Regions from separate parts of the Homo sapiens genome. Here region 1 is linked to region 2. The links are contacts of gene promoters, found by promoter capture Hi-C in blood cells and fetal thymus (Javierre and others, 2016). All regions are on one chromosome and are shown on one strand. The core of a region is centred on a gene start or on the middle of the fragment in contact, and the rest is flanking DNA. Distances in the headings are between cores, read along the strand shown.

The links. Contacts are between HindIII fragments. The CHiCAGO score rates a contact against its expected background, and 5 or more counts as called.
Region 1: a contact is called between a fragment that was not itself captured here and the fragment with the promoter of PXN in region 2, in 1 of 17 cell types (activated CD4 T cells). The highest score is 5.4, in activated CD4 T cells.

What each region holds. Positions count from the first base shown.
Region 1 is chr12:119,917,818-119,924,849 of GRCh38, forward strand. No RefSeq gene overlaps it. Among named protein-coding and RNA genes, the nearest start is that of CIT, 44 kb to the left of the region's middle. The HindIII fragment of the contact is 9,411 bases long and covers 1-7,032 here.
Region 2 is chr12:120,262,544-120,269,600 of GRCh38, forward strand. It overlaps PXN (paxillin), which reads right to left and starts at 3,187. Exons shown (of 15, transcript NM_001385981.1): 1 at 3,074-3,187. The coding sequence starts at 3,086. RefSeq lists silencers at 2,905-3,054, 3,215-3,494. The HindIII fragment of the contact is 6,296 bases long and covers 1-5,353 here.

The sequences.
Region 1 (7,032 bases), core at 1,793-4,292, 340 kb before region 2:
TTTTTTTATTGATAATTCTTGGGTGTTTCTCACAGAGGGGGATTTGGCAGGGTCATGGGACAATAGTGGAGGGAAGGTCAGCAGATAAACAAGTGAACAAAGGTCTCTGGTTTTCCTAGGCAGAGGACCCTGCGGCCTTCCGCAGTGTTTGTGTCCCTGGGTACTTGAGATTAGAGAGTGGTGATGACTCTTAAGGAGCATGCTGCCTTCAAGCATCTGTTTAACAAAGCACATCTTGCACCGCCCTTAATCCATTTAACCCTGAGTGGACACAGCACATGTTTCAGAGAGCACAGGGTTGGGGATAAGGTCACAGATCAACAGGATCCCAAGGCAGAGGAATTTTTCTTAGTGCAGAACAAAATGAAAAGTCTCCCATGTCTACTTCTTTCTACACAGACACGGCAACCATCCGATTTCTCAATCTTTTCCCCACCTTTCCCGCCTTTCTATTCCACAAAGCCGCCATTGTCATCCTGGCCCGTTCTCAATGAGCTGTTGGGCACACCTCCCAGACGGGGTGGTGGCCGGGCAGAGGGGCTACTCACTTCCCAGTAGGGGCGGCCGGGCAGAGGCGCCCCTCACCTCCCGGACGGGGCGGCCGGCCGGGCGGGGGGCTGACCCCCCCACCTCCCTCCCGGACGGGGCGGCTGGCCGGGTGGGGGGGCTGACCCCCCCATCTCCCTCCCGGACGGGGTGGCTGGCCGGGCAGAGGGGCTACTCACTTCCCAGTAGGGGCGGCCAGGCAGAGGCGCCCCTCACCTCCCGGACGGGGCGGCCGGCCGGGCGGCTGACCCCCCCACCTCCCTCCCGGACGGGGCGGCTGGCCGGGTGGGGGGGCTGACCCCCCCATCTCCCTCCCGGACGGGGTGGCTGGCCGGGCTGAGGGGCTCCTCACTTCCCAGTAGGGGCGGCCGGGCCGAGGCGCCCCTCACCTCCCGGACGGGGCGGCTGGCCGGGCGGGGAGCTGACCCCCCACCTCCCTCCCGGATCGGGCGGCTGGCCGGGCGGGGGGCTGACTCCCCCCACCTCCCTCCCGGACGGGGTGGCTGCCGGGCGGAGACGCTCCTCACTTCCCAGATGGGGTGGCTGCCGGGCGGAGAGGCTCCTCACTTCTCAGACGGGGCAGCTGCCGGGCGGAGGGGCTCCTCACTTCTCAGACGGGGTGGTTGCCAGGCAGAGGGTCTCCTCACTTCTCAGACGGGGCGGCCGGGCAGAGACGCTCCTCACCTCCCAGACGGGGTCTCGGCCGGGCAGAGGCGCTCCTCACATCCCAAATGGGGCGGCGGGGCAGAGGCGCTCCCCACATCTCAGAATATGGGCGGCCGGGCAGAGACGCTCCTCACTTCCTAGATGTGATGGCGGCTGGGAAGAGGCGCTCCTCACTTCCTAGATGGGATGGCGGCCGGGCGGAGACGCTCCTCACTTTCCAGACTGGGCAGCCAGGCAGAGGGGGTCCTCACATCCCAGACGATGGGCGGCCAGGCAGAGACACTCCTCACTTCCCAGACGGGGTGGCGGCCGGGCAGAGGCTGCAATCTCGGCACTTTGGGAGGCCAAGGCAGGCGGCTGGGAGGTGTAGGTTGTAGTGAGCCGAGATCACGCCACTGCACTCCAGCCTGGGCACCATTGAGCACTGAGTGAACGAGACTCCGTCTGCAGTCCCGGCACCTCGGGAGGCCGAGGTTGGCGGATCACTCGCGGTTAGGGGCTGGAGACCGGCCCGGCCAACACAGCGAAACCCCATCTCCACCAAAACCAGTCAGGCGTGGCGGCGCGTGCCTGCAATCGCAGGCATTCGGCAGACTGAGGCAGGAGAATCAGGCAGGGAGGTTGCAGTGAGCCGAGATGGCAGCAGTACAGTCCAGCTTCGGCTCCGCATGAGAGGGAGACCGTGGGGAGAGGGAGAGGGAGAGGGAGAGGGAGAGGGAGAGGGAGAGGGAGAGGGAGAGGGAGAGGGAGAGGGAGAGGGAGAGGGAGAGGGAGAGGGAGAGGGAGAGGGAGAGGGAGAGGGAGAGGGAGAGGGAGAGGGAGAGGGAGAGGGAGAGGGAGAGGGAGAGGGAGAGGGAGAGGGAGAGGGAGAGGGAGAGGGAGAGGGAGAGGGAGAGGGAGAGGGAGAGGGAGAGGGAGAGGGAGAGGGAGAGGGAGAGGGAGAGGGAGAGGGAGAGGGAGAGGGAGAGGGAGAGGTTTCTTAAAACCTGAGCTCTGAAGCTCACACAGCATCAAGTCTGCCACATTCTGTTGGTCAATGTGAGCCATGAGGCCAGTATCAGTTCAAGCGAGCAGAAGAATAGAGTCCACCTCTTGAAGGGAGGAACAGCAACACCACATTGCAAAGAGGGGTGGGTAAAGGGCCATTATTTATTTACTTTTCTTTTTGAGCAGGGTCTCACTCTGTCTCCCAGACTGCAGTGCAGTGACGCAATCATAAGCTCACTGCAGCCTCAACCTCCCAGGCTCAAGTGATCCTCCCACCCCGGCCTCCCAGGTATCCAGCACTAAAAGGTGCACACCACCACACTTGGCCAACTTTTGCATTTTTTGTAGAAACGGGTTACACCATGTTGTCCAGGCTGGTCTGGAACTCCTGGGCTCAAGCAATCCTCCTGACTCGGCCTCCCAAAGTGCTGAGATTACAGGCGTGAGCCACTGCAGAGAGCCATTATTATAATGATCTAGCACATCATGTGACCCAGGCCACTCCAATTAGACACTGTCTCTTGGGATTCCAGATACATATGTGTGTGTAAGAGTGTTCATGTGTATATTTATACATATACATATATGTATAAATGTTTGGTTTGAGTTGGCCAGAGTTGATTTCTGTGTCACTTGCAACCAAAATATCCTAACTGATACATGTATCAGGGCTATTGAGTGGAAGGCCTTTCTCAGGTTTTGGCATATCAGGGTATTTACTTCTTCTCATTGGTAATAAGGGAACAACACCAAGTCCCTGAGACCTGTCTTGTCCCCATTTCCAACTCCCGTGGTGGCTCCTTTTGGCCATGTCTGGACAATGTAATCCCAACTCCTTGACCATACTTGTTGGGACCAGAGTCGAAACTAACCCTACTGACCAGTGGTGAACGCCTGTAATCCCAGAACTTTGGGAGGCTGAAGCGGTCAGATCACCAGAGGTCAGGAGTTCGAGACCAGCCTGGCCAACATGGTGAAACCCTGCCTCTACTAAAAATACAAAAAATTATCCAGGCGTGGTGGTGCACTCCTGTAACCCCAGCTACTAGGGAGGCTGAGGCAGAAGAATTGCTTGAACCTAGAAGGCGGAAGTTGCAGTGAGCTGATATCATGCCACTGCATTCCAGCCTGGATGACAGAGCGAGACTCTGTCTCAAAAAAAGAAAGAAACTAATCCTACTAAGCCCAATCAGATTATTTCTGCCAGGATTTAAAATCAGAACATGAGAATCTGTCAGACTATACTATCCCTTGAATGAGGCCACATAAACTCAAAGACTGAGGATGGTCACCTTCCACCCTATGCAGAGAAAAATAGAGATGGTTGATGTGCAGAAAGAAGGAGCAGAGATACTGAGAGAATAGAGATGAGAGATGGTGTGGCATCTAAGAACCTGGCCGGGAACAGTGGCTCACCTCTGTAATCCCAGCACTTTGGGAGGCTAAGGTGGGTAGATCATTTGAGGTCAGGAGTTTGAGACCAGCCTGGTCAACATGGTAAAAACCCATCTCTACTAAAAATACAAAAAATTAGCTGAGTGTGGTAGTACAAGCCTGTAATCCCAGCTACTCGGGAGGCTGAGGCGGGAGAATCACTTGAACCTTGGGGGCAGAGGTTGCAGTGAGCAGAGATGGCATCAGTGCACTCCAGCCTGGGTGACAGTGCAAGGCTCTGTCTCAAAATAATAATAATAATAATAATAAAATAAAAATAAAAAGGGAAACCTGAGAGATGTTTACTCCTGAGAGCTTTCTGTTCCCTAGTTCTCGTCTCCTGGCCACAGCAATTGGTTCAGGAATCAGCAAATGACTGCATTCAGGTCAACAATAGAGAGTGAATCCTAGGACTAACATAAGAGATATCAGAAAATATATTATTTCTTCCCCTGGCTAGTCTGGTAGAAGTAGGCGGATCACCTGAGGTCAGGAGTTCGAGACCAGCCTGGCCAACATGGTGAAACCCTGTCTCTACTAAAAATACAAAAACTTAGCCGGGTATGGTGGTGCGCGCCTGTAGTCCCAGCTACTTGGGAGGCTGAGACACCAGAATCGCTTGAACCCGGGAGGCAGAGGTTGAAGTGAGCCAAGATTGCATCACTGCACTCCAGCCTGGATGACAGAGTGAAACTCCATCTCAAAAAAAAAAAAAAAAAAAAAAAAGAAAGTAAAATCTGGAGCAGCCACAAGACCACTGGGTGGACTGTGAAGATGACGCGAATACTATAGAAGTTAGAATGGAGAGGCCAGAGCTGAGCTTGGTGGCTCACACCTGTAATCCCATCATCTGGGGAGGCTGAGGTGGGTGGATCACGTGAGGCCAGGAGTTCAAGACCAGCCTGGCCAACATATCAAAACCCCATCTCTATTAAAAATACAAAAAAATGGTAGTCCCAGCTACTTGGGAGGGCTGAGGCATGAGAATCACTTGAGACCAGGAGGCAGAGGTTGCAGTGAACCGTGATCATGCCACTGCACTCCAGCCTGGGTAACAGACTGAGACCCTGTCTCAAAAAAAAAAGAAAAAAAAAAAGAAAAAGGAAAGAAAAGAAAAAATAACATATAAAGCTCAGAACTCATTTTTTTTGTACCCCTGGCCATTGATAGACACAACTTTCGGCCGGGTGAGGTGGCTCACGCCTATAATCTCAGCACTTTGGGAGGCCGAGGCAGGCGGATCACAAGGTCAGGAGATCGAGTCCATCCTGGCCAACTTAGTGAAACCTCATCTCTAGTAAAAATACAAAGATTAGCCAGGAGTGGTGGCAGGCATGTAATCCCAGCTACTCAGGAGGCTGAGGCAGGAGAACTGCTTGAATCTGGGAGGCAGAGGTTGCAGTGAGCCGAGATCACACCCCTGTGCTCCAGCCTGGTGACAGAGCGAGACTCCATCTCAAAAAAAAAAAAAAAAAAAAAAAAAGATAGATGCAACCCTCCTCTGCGAAATGTTGATCCAGAGGCTCAACCTGCAGGATTCAAAAGTGATTTTGGACCTCCAAATGTGACCTGAGGAACACCTCAGCTTGTGGGAGTTGATCAGATAACTCACTTTATTCTCCTGCTATTGGTAACTTAAAAAAAAGCAATGAGAGCTCCATCTTATAGATAAGACAAATTGAGGCTTATGGTGGTGATTTATCAGCTACAGTGACAAGATAAGAACTAGCAAAGGCAGTGGCTCACACCTGTAATCCCAGCACTTTGGGAAGGTGAGGCAGGAGGATCACTTGAGGCCAGGAGTTCGAGACCAGCCTGGGCAATATGGTGAGACCCTCGTCTCTACAAAAAATAAAAATACCAGCCAGGAATGGTGGTGCATGCCTGTAGTTCCAGTTACTTGGGAGACTGAGGTGGGAGGATCAGCTAAACCCAGGAGTTCGAGGCTGCAGTGAGCTATAATCGCACCACTGCACTCCAGCCTGGGCGACAGAGCAAGACTCTGTCTCAAAAAAAGAAAGAAAAAGAAAATTAAAACATTTTAATTATAAGAAAGAAAAAATAAATAACTAGCAAGGGCACTCATATTTGATGCTCTGCTGAGCTCTTAAATCGCCTTTGTAAATCATGTATTATTTACCTACCTAGACACCTAAAAACAGAACTGGGGGCTCCTCAGAAGCCAAGAGGAGCAGCCCAAAACAGAGGAAAAAAGGCCAGGAGTATTTTTAAATTTTACATCTAGTTTAAATGATCAGGACTTGGATTATAGTGATACAGTGCAGGGACCTCATTAGTGACTGACTTCTAAAGCAGTACTAAAATTGTCCAAAAATGAAGAGTGTTCCCTCCACAGTTCCACGCACAGAATCAAATACCATGAGTAAGTATGCAAATTAGCAGGTGCCCACAGGCCCAGGGTCTAAAGAAAATAAATCAAGCAGCTATCCTAAGATAACTTCCAATAAACTTTGCTTTTCCCTTTATTAGCATTCAGTTCAGTTGAGTTCAACAAGCACTTTTTGAATGCTTGCTACATGATGTGCAACGGGCATTGCATTTCCATTTGCATGATGGTCAGCTGTCACCTCATTTTCCCCTTTAAGCGCTTCCAAATAAAATACTGTATTCATTTCCTAAGGCTGCCATAACAAAGTAGCACAAGCTGGGTAGCTGAAATAATGGAATTTTATTCTCTCACAGTTCTGGAGGCTGAAAGTCCCAAATCAAGGTGTCAGCAGGGGAGGCTTCCTCTGAAGGCTCTAAGAGTGGATCGTTACTCGGCTTTTCCAGCTTCTGGTGGTGCTAGCTGTTCCTTAACTTGTGTCTGCATCACTTCAATCTCTCCTTATGTCTTCGCATGATCATCATCTGTGTGTGTCTCTCCACTCCTTATAAGATACTGGGCTGGGCATGGTGGCTCATATCTGTAATCCCAGCACTTTGGGAGACCAAGGCAGGAGGACCACTTGAGGCCAGGAGTTCAAAACCAGTCTGGGCAACATATTGAGACCCTGTCTCTACAAAGGGAAAAAAAATAGCCAGGCATGGTGGTGCATGACTGTAGTCCCAGCTGCTTAGGAGGCTGAGGCAGGAGGATTGCTTGAGCATGGGAGTTTGAGGCTATACTGAGCCATGATTGTGCCCCTGCCCTCCAGCCTGGGTAAAAGAGTGAGACCCTGTCATAATCTCACCTTGAGATCCTTAAGTAGTTTCATCTACCAAGAGCCTACTTCCAAATAAGGCCATATTTCGGAGTTCCAGGTGGACACTATTTAATCCACTACAAATACTGTGTCACAAAATGTGAATGAGCAATGTTAATTTCACTGAAGTTTTTGAAAGGAAGGAAGAGAAGGTTGAGGTTACTCAACCCACCATAGACACCTTGAAATCCCT
Region 2 (7,057 bases), core at 1,937-4,436:
TGTATAAAGTGGAGCGAAAACACCTCCCTTTCTGAAAGGTTGTGATACAGCTCGTAAAGTGCTGAGTACAGTGCCTGTCTCCCATGAAGCGCACATGATCATGATTAGACCACAGTTGTGGTCAAAGCCCCCACCAAGTACACTGAGAACATGAACAGAGGAAGAGCAAGCAATCGGGTTAGAAAACACAGTCAGAGTGCATCTCAGTGTTGTGGGAACTCTGTCCAGGAAACTCCGGCCAGAACTTGAACAGAGCGAACTCTGGGCCAAACCAGCATCTAAACAGTAATAAGAAAAGCCACCAAGCAGCCACCCCAAAGAACAAAGTGGAGAGAACACACAGGGAAGGGCAGAACACGCTGTGTTGATATTTTTCTGCTCAGAGAGCTATAAATTTGTAACTTATTAAGCAGCACATGGTGAGTCTGTCATTGGCAACTATGGGAAGGAGAAGAGTTCCCCATTTTTTATTAGACCAAAAAACAAAGTCACAGAGGAGGTGATGCACCCTCTGGCCTTGCTACCGGACACACCATAAACTCTCCCCTGTGTTAGGGACCAGGAGGCACACGGCTGAGAGCACGCTCAGGAGAAAAATAAAAACAAGAGGTCTGGGCTTTGTGTCCACCCTAAGGAAAACAGCTGAGCCACCCTAAGGAAAACAGCTGATGGCAGTGTGCTGAGCCGCCATCCAGACAGCTGACGGGGCCCCAGTGCAAAGGCAAATTCCTCTCCCCTCCTGCACACCCCATTCCTCCCACCCCAGGCTCCGGTCAGTCAGGCGTGGCTTGCCCCTTGGGAGCTCAGGCCAAGGAAGTCGGGCAGCCCGGATGTAAGCAACTGGGAGTCTATGGTAGAAAGCAGTAGAAGTTACAGGTGATCGCCATCACCCAGTGGCAACCCCTCCTTCAAGTGCCCTTGCCTCCTCCCCAGGAAAAAAAGTCTTCTCGGTATACAAGAGCCACAGATCTGGGAGCTAGGAATTGGGCTTCCAGTTATGGTTTTGTCATTTCATGGCTGTGCAGCCTTGGGCAAGAGAATCAGCCTCTCTTCGTCTCGGCTTTCTCAATCTGTAAAAAGGCAGGTGGTCATGACAGCATTGGCTTTAAGGTGGAATCTGATAAAAGGGTTGTTGTGAGGATATCACAAATCGAGGTAGAGGGAAGTACTCCACAAACAGCAATTTAAATCCCTACAATCCCCTCTCCCGTATACAGTACTCTCTTTCCTTTCAGAACTCAGTTTCCTGGCCCTAAATGGAAGACTGTCAGAAGACAGGAATTCCAGATTTCGATGGCGAGCTCTACAAAGACTTTCTCAGTCCTTGAAACAGCACGGGGACTGCCGAGAAGCAACAGAACTGCACCAGCACTTTAGAAACTGTAACTTTGCTCCCAGTTCCCACTGGGAAAGCACTCAGACTCTTAGATCCTGGTTCAAAGAACATCCCCCAGCCTCCTTCCAGCTGAGCTATTTTTATGTGAAAAAAAAAAATACCTGCCTGGAAGCCATGCCAACCTTGAGCACACTGGAAAAATGGGTGCCAAGCCTGACCCAAAGGCAGAACCACGCTTGGCAGCCATCTCACTCTGCAAAACAGGCAGGACCCTACACCAACCCCAGCTCCAGGATCTCAGGGGCACCCTGATCCCAAAAGGAAGCTGGAGGGAAGCAGTCAAGTCCAGCACCTACAAATAGCCAGTCTTAACTTAGTGCCCGGCGCTGCTTGGTAGAGGTCCATCAGTCCTGTCTGCTGAATCTACTCCTCAGAGCCTGGGACAGAGGAAGCATCAGTGGTCACACAAGCCACCCACAGTCCAGAGAGGAAAGACAAGGCTCCTGCAGAGAAGAAACGTTGCCCCCCTCCTCACCTCCCAAGCTCAGGGCCCTCCAGCTACAGGCGTGAAGGGGAGGGAGAGACAGCGAATCCTCCCACTCCTGCGTTCACGCCACCCAAGGCATTCCTAGAACCCTGGCACCAACCCCCTTGGGTTTAGAGTCGGCTTCCAGGAGATACTTTCTTTCCCCTAACACCAGATCAAGACTGGACTGAAAAGAGTAGCCTTGGGGCTCCAATAACAGGAAAACAGTAAAACTCTGTTCTGGGCATCCTGTCCTCTTTCACCTGCGTGGCTTCCAGCAGGGCCTGACGCAGAGAGGGTGGAGGGGACTCTGCTAGCCAGGACACGTTCAGGGATGGTCATACCTTGGGGCCCACCTTCCACCTCATTCCCCTGGCATTTCACCAGAATCTAGGGGTGGGGAGAGAATCAGGACTCCCAAATTACCGTTCTAGACTTAGATACCATGGTAGACGGACTGGTCTGTGAATTGAGGGGCTGGTCCACAGAGCGGGGAGGTCAGTGAGAGAAAATGAGTGATGGGTCCTTGAAACGGGGTGACCAGATTTGAAGTGGGGGGTCAGAAGAGCAGGCAGACTGGGAAACTTGTCTTTGAAATGGGGGTGTGGTCATCACACGCTCATCTCTAGCTTTTGCATCTGACTTGTGAAATGAAAGGGGTGGGCTCCGAGGGGTTATCCCTGAAGGGGGGTGCTAGTCTGTGAAGTGGGGGGCGGCCCTGGAGGGACGGGGAGCAGGTCGAGGAAATGAGGGAGCAGCCCATGAGATCGGGCAGCTGCTCCCCGAGTTGGGCGGTCGATCTGTGAGGTGGGGGTGGGGAGAGGTCTGCGAGGTGAGGGTCCCGTAGCTGACGAGGTGGTCTGCCGCAGGAAGTCTCGTCCCTGCAGCGGACGGGGTGGGTCCCTGAGGGGCGGGCTGGTCCCTGGGGCCCTTCTGGGAGATGGTGATGGGTCCCCGAGGTCGGGGGTCCAGAGGTGAAGCCGTCCCAGACGGGGGGTCGCTGCTGTGCGGTCGGTGCCGGGGCCGGCCTGGCCCGAGACTAAGGCCCGGTTAGGGATCCCAGCCCCGCGGAGCCCCGGCCGGCAGGGACAGGAGCTGAGGCCGGGGCCGCCGAGGGTGGGATCCCGCGGCCCCTGCCGCTCGCTGGCGCCCTCCTGGCCCCAAGCTGCGCGCCTCTCGCCTCCTCCTCCCTCGGCCTCCCGCTCACTCACCGAGGTCGTCCATGGCCGGACCACGGGCGCCGGCTCAGGGTCGCGCTAGCTGCCCGTCCCGGGGCCGCTCGTCTATGCCCCGCAACTTTTCCGCCGCGAGCCTCGGCCCGGAACGGAACGCGCCGCCGCCGCGCGCGCCCGCGCCCGCGCCCGCCGCGCGCCCCGCCCCCGGCCGCCCCCTGTGCACGCGCGCCCCGCCCCCGGACACCCCCGCGAGCTTGCTGGCCCCGCCCCCTGCGCACGCTGGTCCCGCCCCCGCCAAGAGCCCGGGCAGTGGGCGTCGCTGGGCGGGGCGGTGGCGCCCCCTCGCGGCTAAGCGGGCAGGTGGGCGGCTCCCAGGCCTCCAGCCACTCCCATCCATCTTTCTGTCCCTCTCAAAGTCACTTGCCTGACCCTGCGGATGACAAATCCGTCCACAGTCAGCCATGTGTCTGTGCATTCGTCAGCCACTGGGTCATCACATGCCTGTCCACTGGACAGTCAGTTTTGCCCACCTGTCCGTCTGTCACCTGTAGGTCACCACCCAGGAGGACCATAAATCAGTACCAGGCAAGGCCCGGAGCCCGTGGCTGACCTTTCCTGGGGTCGTCCTCTGGATCAATGGCAGTGCAGCTCGCAGTTCACCCTTTCTGGCCCAAACCCAATACCTGTGTGGTTCCATCTCTCTTAATATTACTTCCACACAGCCACCCTCCCTAGACACTTTTCCAAAACTGCATGGGGCAGAGGGGTCCCCAGATTAGACATTAAAGGGAAAACTACAGGAAAGTCACACCCAGTGCTCCCACACACTCGGAAATTGGGTAATAATAACAACTACCATTTATTGAGTGTCTGAATAGACAGACACTATATAGCTATTCTCTAAATTAATCCTCCTAGAGGTACTTCCCTACCCGTTGGGATGGGTGATGGCAGTTTGTGGATTTTATATAAAACTGCTCTGCAAGTACAGCTTCGAGTTCCCCTTGTCCCTCAAGAATCCAGGCCTTCTGGGTCAGATCAGGTCCTCCAGAAAGCAGATGAGATGCTGAGATAAAGCTAGGGGTAATGCCCGTGACAGAGAAGGGGAAATAAGCAGGGTTGGGCAAGGAGACTCAGATCTGACAAACAGGTCAACCCATCAGGGAATTCCAGGACAAAAAAAATGAGAAGTCTCCTTGGGCAGAAGTATCCGGGTTCCAATGCTCCCACCATGTTCAGTCATTTTATAAAGGCAGATCCAAGCAGCTTCTGTGGCTGCCACATTCTCCTATAATAAATTCAAGACCAAAGACTGTTCCTCAAACACTCTATTGCGTGGTTTTCCAGCATCTTGCACATACCTCTATTTTGTTTTAGTTTTTGTGTTTTTGTTTTTGTTTGAGATGGAGTCCCAATCTGTCGCCCAGGTTGGAGTGCAGTGGTGCAATCTCAGCTCACTGCAACCTCCGCCTCCCAGGTTCAAGTGATTCTCCTGCCTCCTGCTGGGATTACAGGCGCATACCACCATGCCTGGCTAATTTTTGTATTTTTAGTAGAGATGGGGTTTCACCATGTTGGCCAGGCTGGTCTTGAACTCCTGATCTCAGGTGATCTCCTGCCTCCTGGTGGGATTACAGGCGTGTACTACCATGCCTGGCTAATTTTTGTATTTTTAGTAGAGACAGGGTTTCACCATGTTGGCCAGGCTGGTCTTGAACTCCTGACTTCAGGTGATCCGCCCCCCTCAGCCTCCCAAAGTGCTGGGATTACAGGTGTGAGCCACCACGCCCAGCCTGTTTTTGTGTTTTTAAGACACAGTCTTGCTTTGTTGCGTAGGCTGGGATGATGAATAAGACTAACATGATGTCTACCTTCTTGAATCTAAAGGTGCACGCAAAAGAGCAAAGTGGTTAGCATGAAGGATGAGTAGCCTCGCCCCACTCCCAGCTGTGTGGAACAGCATGTGCAAAGGTCTGTAGACAAGACATTTAATACTGACCACAAGCCTAGGAGATGAGCATTGTTAGCCCCTTTTACAGCTGGAAGAGTTGAGAGTCAGAGGTTGAATTACTCCAGGTCATACAGCTAATAAGTAAGGAAACTGAGATTTGAACCTGGGGAGGCTTATGCCAAGGCCTGGTTATGAAACGGCTAAGTGAAACTGCTAACAACTTAGACCAACCCCAGGGCATACGCTTGTCCACTTCTCCAAAGGTCTAAAACCTTTCTTTTTCAAAGCTGTGTGGTCTGGAAATGCGAGGCACCCATTGAATGGGCAAGTTTCCCATTGCTATGCAGAGTTCTAAAGAGAACTGAAGCTTCAGAGTTGAGTGCTGGTGCACTCGAACACTCAGGTCCCTGCCAGGGATTTCCTCATGTAAATCATTCCTAAACCCCCATTTCCTCCCTGGCTTCCTTCTTCCCTTGGACTCTCACCCCACAGCAATTAAACTTGGTGTCTAGTTCAGGCTGCTACAACAAAATACTGTAGACCGAGTGACTTATAAACAACAGAAATTATTTTTTCACAGTTTTGGAGGCTGAAAGTTCAAGATCAGGGTGCCAGCACAGTCAGGTTCTGGTGAGGGCCCTCTTCTGGGTTGCAGACTGTTGACTTTTTGTACCCTCACACGGCTCAAAGAGGGTCCCTTTAATAAAGGCACTAACTAATCTCTTTCATGAGGGCCCTGCCCTCATGACCTAATCACCTGTCAGGCCTCACCTCCTAACACTATCGAATTGAGATTAGATTTCAACATATGAATTTTCAAGGATATGAACATTCAGTCCCTTGCATTTGATAAAATCAATCAGGTTTTTTCATTCTTCCTAAAGATTAAACGACATTGACAGAGCAGATGGACAACCCTGCTGACTTCTTGCTAGTGGTTCATCTTGGGCAATTTACTCTGTGCCTCAGTTTCTTCCCCTATAGAAAGGTTAATAGTAGCTACCTCTCAGAGTCCTCATAGGACTAAATAAGAAACGACACACCTAGTACTTAGAATGGTCCTTGTCACCACAAAATAACACTCTTCACTCAGCAATAGAAACAGAACTCGACCAGGCTCACACCTGTAATCCCAGCACTTTGGAAGGCCAAGGCGGGCGGATCACTTGAGGTCAGGAGTTCGAGACCAGCCTGGCCGACATGGCGAAACACCATCTCTACTAAAAATATATAAATTAGCTGGGCATAGTGGTGTGCACCGGTAATTCCAGCTGCTCAGGAGGCTGAGGCAGGAGAATCACCTGAACCCAGGAGACGGAGGTTGCAGTGAGTCGAGACTGTGCCACTGCACTCCTGCCTGCGCGACAGAGTGAGACTCTGTCAAAAAAAAAAACAAAGAAAGAAAGAAGGAAGGAAGGAAGAAAGGAAGGAAGGAAGGATGGAAGGAAGGAAGGAAGGAAAGAAAGAGAGAGAAAAGAAACAGAATGCAAGCCGGATATGCAATCAAAACTTTTCTTTTTTTTCTTTCTTTTTTTTGAGACAGAGTCTCACTCTGTCGCCCAGGGTGGAGTGCAGCGGCATGATCTCAGCTCACTGCAACCTCTGCCTCCCGGGTTCAAGTGATTCTCCTGCCTCAGCCTCCTGAGTAGCTAGGATTACAGGCACCCGCTATCACACCCGACTAATTTTTGTTTTTGTTTTTTTTTTTTTTTTTGAGACGGAGTCTTGCTCTGTCGCCCAGGCTGGAGTGCGGTGGCGCGATCTCGGCTCACTGCACGCTCTGCCTCCCAGGTTCATGCCATTCTCCTGCCTCAGCCTCCCAAGTAGCTGGGACTACAGGCGCCCGCCACCACGCCCAGCTAATTTTTTCTATTTTTAGTAGAGACGGGGTTTCACCGTGTTAGCTAGGATGGTCTCGATCTCCTGACCTCGTGATCCGCCCATCTCGGCCTCTCAAAGTGCTGGGATTACAGGCGTGAGCCACCGCGCCTGGCCAATTTTTGCATTTCTTTAAGTAGAGATGGGGTTTCACCATGTGGGCCAGGCTGGTCTTGAACTCCTGACCTCAG